3 separate regions of the Homo sapiens genome follow, and all the other regions are linked to region 3. The links are contacts of gene promoters, found by promoter capture Hi-C in blood cells and fetal thymus (Javierre and others, 2016). All regions are on one chromosome and are shown on one strand. The core of a region is centred on a gene start or on the middle of the fragment in contact, and the rest is flanking DNA. Distances in the headings are between cores, read along the strand shown.

The links. The method cuts DNA at HindIII sites, captures the fragments that hold promoters and counts their contacts. A CHiCAGO score of 5 or more calls a contact.
Region 1: a contact is called between a fragment that was not itself captured here and the fragment with the promoter of ING3 in region 3, in 1 of 17 cell types (non-activated CD4 T cells). The highest score is 10.0, in non-activated CD4 T cells.
Region 2: a contact is called between a fragment that was not itself captured here and the fragment with the promoter of ING3 in region 3, in 1 of 17 cell types (non-activated CD4 T cells). The highest score is 6.9, in non-activated CD4 T cells.

Annotation. Positions count from the first base shown.
Region 1 is chr7:124,930,702-124,933,401 of GRCh38, forward strand. All of the region lies in intron 1 of POT1-AS1 (POT1 antisense RNA 1), which reads left to right. Among named protein-coding and RNA genes, the nearest start is that of POT1-AS1, 2.2 kb to the left of the region's middle. The HindIII fragment of the contact is 1,723 bases long and covers 580-2,302 here.
Region 2 is chr7:116,863,294-116,865,993 of GRCh38, forward strand. The region is part of intron 1 of CAPZA2 (capping actin protein of muscle Z-line subunit alpha 2); the gene reads left to right. Among named protein-coding and RNA genes, the nearest start is that of CAPZA2, 2.1 kb to the left of the region's middle. The HindIII fragment of the contact is 699 bases long and covers 1,086-1,784 here.
Region 3 is chr7:120,949,414-120,952,113 of GRCh38, forward strand. ING3 (inhibitor of growth family member 3) reads left to right here and starts at 1,364. Exons shown (of 12, transcript NM_019071.3): 1 at 1,364-1,511; 2 at 1,751-1,822. The coding sequence starts at 1,484. RefSeq lists an enhancer at 1,907-1,986. The HindIII fragment of the contact is 9,487 bases long and covers 1-2,700 here.

The DNA of each region.
Region 1 (2,700 bases), core at 191-2,690, 4.0 Mb after region 3:
CGCTCTGTCACCAGGCTGGAGTGCAATGGCGCAATCTCGGCTAACTGCAACCCCCACCTCCCGGGTTCAAGCAATTCTTCTGCCTCAGCCTCCCTAGTAGCTGGGATTACAGGCGCAGGCCACCATGCCTGGCTAATTTTTGTATTTGTTTAGTAGAGACGGGGTTTCCCATTTTGGCCAGGCTGGTCTCGAACTCCTGACCTTGTGATCCGCCCACCTTGGCCTCCCAAAGTGCTGGGATTACAGACATGAGCCACTGTGCCCAGCCAGCTATGTTTGAAGTGCCTTTTTAATCAACAGGAAGCATTCAGTATTAGCCCATCTCCTGTTTCCCCTCCCCATCCCTGTAGTTATATCCCACGCAGAAGCCGGGGTGACAAGTGCATGAACTCAGGAGCTGTCCATTTGAGGAAAACTATAGGGAAGGTTTAGATGCTATCCTCCTTCCATCTCTGGCTGCATCCGGCTGAGAAATACTATTCCTCCTTTTTATGTGAAGCCCTCCACATGGGCTTTGGACCCTGACCAATTTCATCTCCCTTCCATCATCATCAATATATTTTCTCTTAATGTATTTTAAGCTTTCCTTCTTTTATTCATTCTTTCCCGTCACCATTTAAACACATTCTCCCAGGCTCTTGCTCTGTCGCCCAGGCTGAAGTGCAGTGGCGAGATCATAGCTCGCTGCAGCCTGGAACTCCTGGGCTCAAGCTATCCTCTGGCCTCAGCCTTCTAAGTAGCTGGGACTACAGGCACAGGCCACCACACCCGGCTAATTTTTTAAAAAAATTTTGTGGAGACGAGTTCTCACTATGTTGCCCAGTCAGTCTCACACTCCTCTGTGGGTACTAAATATTTGTTGAATGAACAAATGCTGAGGAAAACTGTTTATCTTACTTCTGACTTCCACCCCTCCATCCCACCCCTGCCCCCCACCACCCCATTACACTTAAACTGCCCTTAGAAAAACCACTGAAGAACTCTTTATTGCTAACCCAAAAGGACATTTTTAGTCTCATATTTTTGAAAACATTCTTTGTGCTACAACATGGTCCTAGTTTTCCTCTTACCTTCTACCAACTGAATCTTTTAAAATTTCTCATAATCTGTTTAGCCTGTAAGTATCCATGTTCTGTAGAATGTGATGAAGATGTCTAATAGAGGTATACGTAAGTCCTTTTATTTTGTTAAAGTGGTTGTTCTCAGTTCCTGTGGGACACAACACTTCCTACACGTTCAAGTAACTTCCAATCTTATTTCTTCTGCATAATCTCCCAATTAGTGGCAGAGGCTCCAGAGCCTGTAATGCTTTCCCTCACATTAGCAATTAATTTCCACAAATGAAGAAAATTGCTCATGAATATACAGTACAATTTAAGATAATAAGAGAGGAAAAAAAGAGATTGAATCAACTGAATAAGGCAATGAAGACATATTAATGCCAAAACAATCCATTACTATTGTTCTATGCCTGTTGAAGCAGCATAAAAAAGCTACTCTAAGGCTAACAATTAATGTAATTGTTATTAGAAGTTATGACTTTTAAAGGTTCAATGAAAAAAGTTTTTATATAAAATCTGCAATGTAAAAATGTTCATTTTAAGAAAAGTTAAAATTAAATTTTCATTAATAAATAATGAAGACTAAAAGCAAAATGGGTAATTTTTAAGTGATGTATAAATATAAGGATTCAGTATAGTTATCATAAATAAATCAAACGTGAAAGAAATTAGTCTGCAAATTTCTGACACATCTTCCCTCTCATAGCATTTTCATATTATCCTTTACTATTTACTTGTTAATGTCTACATGTAAAATTGAATTGCCTAACATGTCCAGCACTTCAAATTCATTTCCTTTGCATTAATTGTGGGGTGATTAACCCATTCCTGTTTGCAGTCCATCTGTCCTGCAAGCTGTTATCATCAGGTTGCATCTCTAGAGCCTGACAATATCATCTTCTTACTCCTGAGATTTTCTAGGAATAATAGCTAGGCTACATTAGTTGGAGTTCATTTCCTTGTGTCTAATATTCTTTCTGCCCAATCCTAATGAACATCTAAATGGATTTGTAAAATCCTATTTCAATAAAGCATCAAATTTTTATATTGTTATGTAGCTGAGCCAGGAGATAAATCAAACATAATTTTTTCTCAAATGTATGTTTAAGTTACAAATTTAAATGGTAAAGCATGTAATCACTCAGTGCATACTAGGAAGCAAAATAAAGATATTTTTAAAACATAATATTAGGTACCACAAATTGAGAAAACATTATTATCCATTGAAGAGGTCTCTCAAAAGCTTTTGTACTTTAATAATAAATCTTTTTAATTTATTATTTAAAATATCCTAGGCCAGGCACAGTGGCTCACACCTGTAATCCCAGCACTTTGGGACGCCGAACCAGGCAGATCACAAGATCAGGAGTTCGAGACCAACCTGGCCAACATAGTGAAAACCTGTCTCTACAGAAAATACAAAAAATTAGCCAGGTGTGGTGGCGGGCACCTGTAATCCCAGCTACTCGGGAGGCTGAGACAGGACAATCACTTGAACCCAGGAGGTGGAGGTTGCAGTGAGCTGAGATCACACCATTGCACTCCAGCCCGGGAAACAGTGCGAGACTCCGTCTCAAAAAAAAAAAAAAAAAATCCTCATCAGTTAAAAAATTGTCTTTCCTTCAGTTGCTACTCATTT
Region 2 (2,700 bases), core at 185-2,684, 4.1 Mb before region 3:
ATGTTCCCCAGGAGGCAGCGGAGTTGCTCACAAAAAGACGACCCCCTCCCCATAGTTGTTTTCTGCCCACGTTGGCAGCAGCCCCCCCCCGGGGGTCGATTTGGTGGCACCTCACTTTCCTGCTAGGACTTCTTCCGAAGAGGGGAAAATGTGCAACTCCTTTTACTGTATATTAGATGCTGTGACAGCAATGGAACCAGATGAACGACTTAAGTTCTCAGATATTTAAAACGAGTAATGGAATAATTCATTGAACTGCTGCTCTCTTAATTCGCCCCTTTCGTTTGGCTTTTGGGAACGTCCCATTCCCGAGGGTGGTGGGGTAGGGGAGAACCCTGCTAATTTTGACTGTTTCTCGGAAAGGACCCTTAGAAGTAACTGACAGAACATAGGAATGAGTTAGTTGCAGGGTTGGAAATGTCCACTCTTCGTTAAAGAGTGCTTCATTTTTAAATTTCAAAGCCAGTGCAGGAAAATACAGGTACATTTAGGTATGTTGTGGTGTTTAAGAAATCTTCATGTAAGTCTGAGGATATTTTCATTTAGGACCCTCTGCTCTAGATGTTTTTATATGCTGTGTTCTTGCACCGAAATAGAAGGTTCTGTCCCATTCCCAATGTGAATGGTCAGAAGTCAGCCTCATCTTTATTTTCGGAAATCTTTTTTTCTCTTGTGTTCTTCGGTGAAAGTGATAATACAACAACAAAATGGGGGCGAGCAACGTCTCCATAGCCCACAGACCCAGTAGGCAGATCCCCGTATCCACAAAAGTTGCTGTACAGTATTCAATGTATAATCTTGATAAATAATCCTATTTTATTTAGGTGACTGAAAGTGTACAGGAGTGCACAAACATATTTAAAATTGAGGCGTGCTAAAAAGCTTAAAAAGAGATTGTCGTGTTTTTATTCTACCATTCTTAAGTGATGATTAGTAGCTCAAGTGGCTAGAAATCTAGCTGAAGAGAGACTACTCGGTGTGGGAGTTAATATAGACCTGCCATGTGTTGTAAAGGCCTAAAATAAAAAAGTTTTTTAAAAATGAGATAACAAGATGCCTTATTATCTGGCACTCTCAGGGCACTAAGCTTCATAAAGAGGAATGAGGAGGTTGTGTGTCTTAAAGCCTGTGCCGCCTAGTAGCAAAATGTTTTATGGTTAAATGAATGAAAATTCTAATTTGATTTTTGATGTTTTGTAAGAATATTATGTAGATATTTTACATATAAATTTTATCACTATATTTACTAATTTAAAAACTGACAAAACCTTTAGGTTAAATTCAAGTAACCAGTAAAGTGAAATTTTAACGTTCTTGTCACTTGAGATATCTAAAGGTTATTTTCATTTTGGGGGAGGAGGATGTGTCCAGTATGGGATCAGAAAACAGAGAGGACTTAAAAGTGATATTTTAATATTACTCGTTCTACTGCCTTATTGGTAATTTTCAAAAATAAGCTCTTAAGCTGGGCACGGTGGTTTGCACCTGTAATGCCAACTACTCTGGATGCCAAGGTGTGGAGGATCGCTTGAGCCCAGGAGTTGTAGACCAGCCTGGTAACATAGCGAGACCTCATCTCTAAAAAAAAATATTAAGTTTTGAATACTTTTAAGTTTTTGAAATTTCCATTCTAGATTGCAAATTTAAGGAAGAGAAGCTGTTAAGATGTGTCTAGTACCATACTTTATATATGCTTGGCTCAGTTAGATACATTCATTACTTAATTTGTTGTTGTAAGAGGTAGTTCTATTACCATTTCACAGATGAGTAGAGTGAGGTTCAAAAGCTTTAAGTAGTTCACCCAAGGACGGTCAAGATGAAGGTAGTATTTAAAGTTTGTCTTAGTCCAACGTTGATGTTCTTGTGACATTATGCGCTCTCTTCTTTTTTTTTTTTTTTTTTTTTTTTTTGATACAGAGTCCCACTCTGTCACGCAGGCTGGAGTGCAGTGGTGCAATCTTGGCTCACTGCAACCTCTGCCTCCGGGGCTGAAGCGATTCTTCTGCCTCAGCCTCCCGAGTAGCTGGGATAACTGGCACATGCCACCATGCCCAGCTAATTTTTGTATTTTTAGTAGAGACGGGGTTTCGCTATGTTGCCCAGGCTGGTCTTGAACTCCTGACCTCAGGTGATCCACCCCCCTCGGCCTCCCAAAGTGCTGGGATTACAGGCGTGAGCCACCATGCCCAGCAGACATTATGCTTTCTTAAACAAAATTGATAAGAACCTCTTCTGGTTTTGTCTCTTCATTTTTAATTTGTTGACAGCTTATTTTGAAAAAGGAGAAACGTTGATTCTTCCTTAGACAGGGTCTCACTCTGTCCACCCAGGCTGGAGTGCAGTGGTGATCATGGCTCACTGCAGCCTCAACTTCCTGGGCTCAAGCAGTCCTCTCACCTCAGTCTCCCCAAGTAGCTGGGAGTACAGGCAGGTGTGCCAGGACACCCAGCAAATTTAAAAAAATTTTTTGTAGAGACAAGGTCTCACGATGTTGTCCAGGGTGGTCTCACACTCCTGGCTCAAACGATCCTCCCACTTGGGCATCCTAAAGTGCTGGGATTACGGGCATGAGCCATGATTCCTAGCCCTTTTTTAAAAAGTAATACCAAGCAAATAGTGTTAGGTTCTAAATTTTTGTCTTGATGATTTTAGAATAAAGCTTATTATTAACACATTTAAAGGTGTTATGTTACTGATAGG
Region 3 (2,700 bases), core at 114-2,613:
AAACTGCAAAAAGATGTCAAAGAGATGTTAAAAGCAGCCAGAAGAAGGAAGGATGGGAAACGAAGAAAGGAGGAAAAAAAGAAGGGAGAAAAAGATCGAAAGTACTTGATTTTCGATGGAAGTAATGAAAAACTTAACTAGAAACTATAAAATTCTAATTCTTATTAGGATCGAAGTAAGGTTCCGTTGAGATTCATCATGATTCATCATTCACGACAGGAAAGTTTCCTGCTTAAGAGCAGTGAAAACCTTGAGTACAAGAGTATGTAATGGAGAAGGAAAGCAAGAAACACACACACACAGTTTCAACTGCAATTTGAAAAACAGAAAATGAACAATAAATTATGAACTAATGACAATTTCCCCAGAAAATCGAAAAGTTAAGAAGAGTGGAAAATAACAATATCTAGCATTTATTGAGTGCAAGAGTTTTTAATAAAAAACAATTTAAAAAGAAACTGAGTAGGGACGTACTAAATATATCACAGGAAAACATTTGCTGGGAGAGGTCGAAAAGTAGAAACTAAAGAACGCCGAAGACAACCAACCTCGAATATGGACTATTTACTCAACATAAAGTTACTGCTATTAACAGCCTATTAGAAATCAAGGCTGCATCCGTAATTCATGGCTGCTCACTGTGATGATGAAGATTATTATTATTATTATTTGCGGATGCAGATTGTATGTATAGATCAATTACATTAGAATGACGATTAGATGGACCGCAAACTAGAATATATAAGTGGCTACTGACACTATTTGTGCATCTTTTAATCTGGGAAATGTATATTCACTCCATAGTCTCAGTATAAACTATTTTAAAATTACACGTAAGCCAACCAGGTGTCTCTTTTATATTTTAGAGTGAATAATGAGGATAAATTCCAGTAGAGAGTTCTATTTTAAGCAATCCAAATTCCCCGAACTTTGCTGATTATTCTAGTGTTTAGAACCTTTGCTATTTGCCTGGCACTTCTTGAAACCCATAACTCACAAACGCCGGGGCATGGAATCACATCAAAGAACAGGTGAAAAGTTGTTCCTAGTTGTGTTATGCAGGTGCATACAACTCCCGCCATTCTCTGTGCAAAAATCAACAAATAAACAGAGGCACCGCATTTCGGATTCTGTTACGCACTGTTTGCAATGGCGCCCGGTATTCGTAGTTTCTGCGAGGGGAGCCGCCAGCGCGCCAACCCTCGCTGAGGAGGAAGAAAACTACATTTCCCACAGAGGCACGGGGGCGAACACCGGCCGGGCTACGTCATTGCTTGAACCAACCAATAGCAGCTCCGGGCGGCAGTGAGGCAAGCGCCTCAGGCGCCAAAGTGGTTTTTTTTTTTTTCTTTTTTTTTTTTTGCCGGAGTCGAGCGGGTGCTGCTAGCGGAGGCGCCATATTGGAGGGGACAAAACTCCGGCGACAGCGAGTGACACAAATAAACCCCTGGACCCCCTTGTTCCCTCAGCTCTAAGGGCCGCGATGTTGTACCTAGAAGACTATCTGGAAAGTGAGTGCGCGGCGCTGGCGGCGGCCGCCAGTGGGACGTGCGGGCGGGCAAGAGCGCGAGTGGACGGGCAGCGAGATGGCGGGAGGGAGGGGGCGGCGGGGGATGTTTCTTTCTCACGGTAACTGGCAGCCTCGTTGTGGGCTGCCGGCCCCCTCGACCCCCCTGACGCACGCGCGCAGTGACGTAAGCGCGTATTTCGCCGTTGGCCCCGCCCCTCTGACGGACTCTCCCTTTGACAGTGATTGAGCAGCTTCCTATGGATCTGCGGGACCGCTTCACGGAAATGCGCGAGATGGACCTGCAGGTGCAGAGTAAGTCGGCGCGTCTACTACTCCTGTTCGCTGCGCGCGTTCAGTGCCAGACTTGCTTGTCATCACTGCTAGCGCCTAGTGCTCTTTCACTGTCCTCTGGCTCACTCCGCTAGTGCATAAGGAGTTGTCAAAAAGAACTGGCAGCCCTGAATCTCGCCTTCCCCTTCCCTCCCATGCTACTTTTTTCTGGCTTTTGCAAGAGCAGGAGGCATTGGGACACGTGTATTCCTTTCTAGAATGTGGGATTGTGCAAAAAATATTTCTCTACCGTCATTGACATAGTTATCTATGTTTCAATGGACGTCAGCATAATAAATGTTGAGATGTCGTCTTGAGCCTTTTCGTATCGAACTTAGATTTCAGCATTTATACTTATTTTAAAGTTCATCCTATTCACAGTTTTTCAAGAGTGGAAAGCACAGAAGCAGAGGTTATATATAGCTCTTTAGAGACCATGGCAAATGTCAAATTTTGAAAACTTAGTTACACATTAGATACATTTTAAATTGTAACAGAATCGTCATTTTCTTGGTTAAAATGAGTGACAGAAATTAGATTTCACTGTAAAGTTTCTTATGTGCTGTACTAAAAATTTTAGCAGTTAATGAACATTTCTTTTTCTTTCAGTGATAGCTTGGTAGTCTCTAGGACTTTTTCCCCAAATTAACTTTGCTCTTTCATAGAGCAACGACTATAAATAGGTGGCTCAGGGACCACCTGCTGCAGCTAAGAACCTGTCCTTTTCACTGCTCCTGGCTTCTCTGCCCATGACCACACACCCACTTCTATACCCTTTGCTTATGAGTATATTTTTCCGGTAAGTTTCAGGTGGCACATAATAAAAAGTGGTGGCATGGAAGCCACTTTCTGTTCAGTGG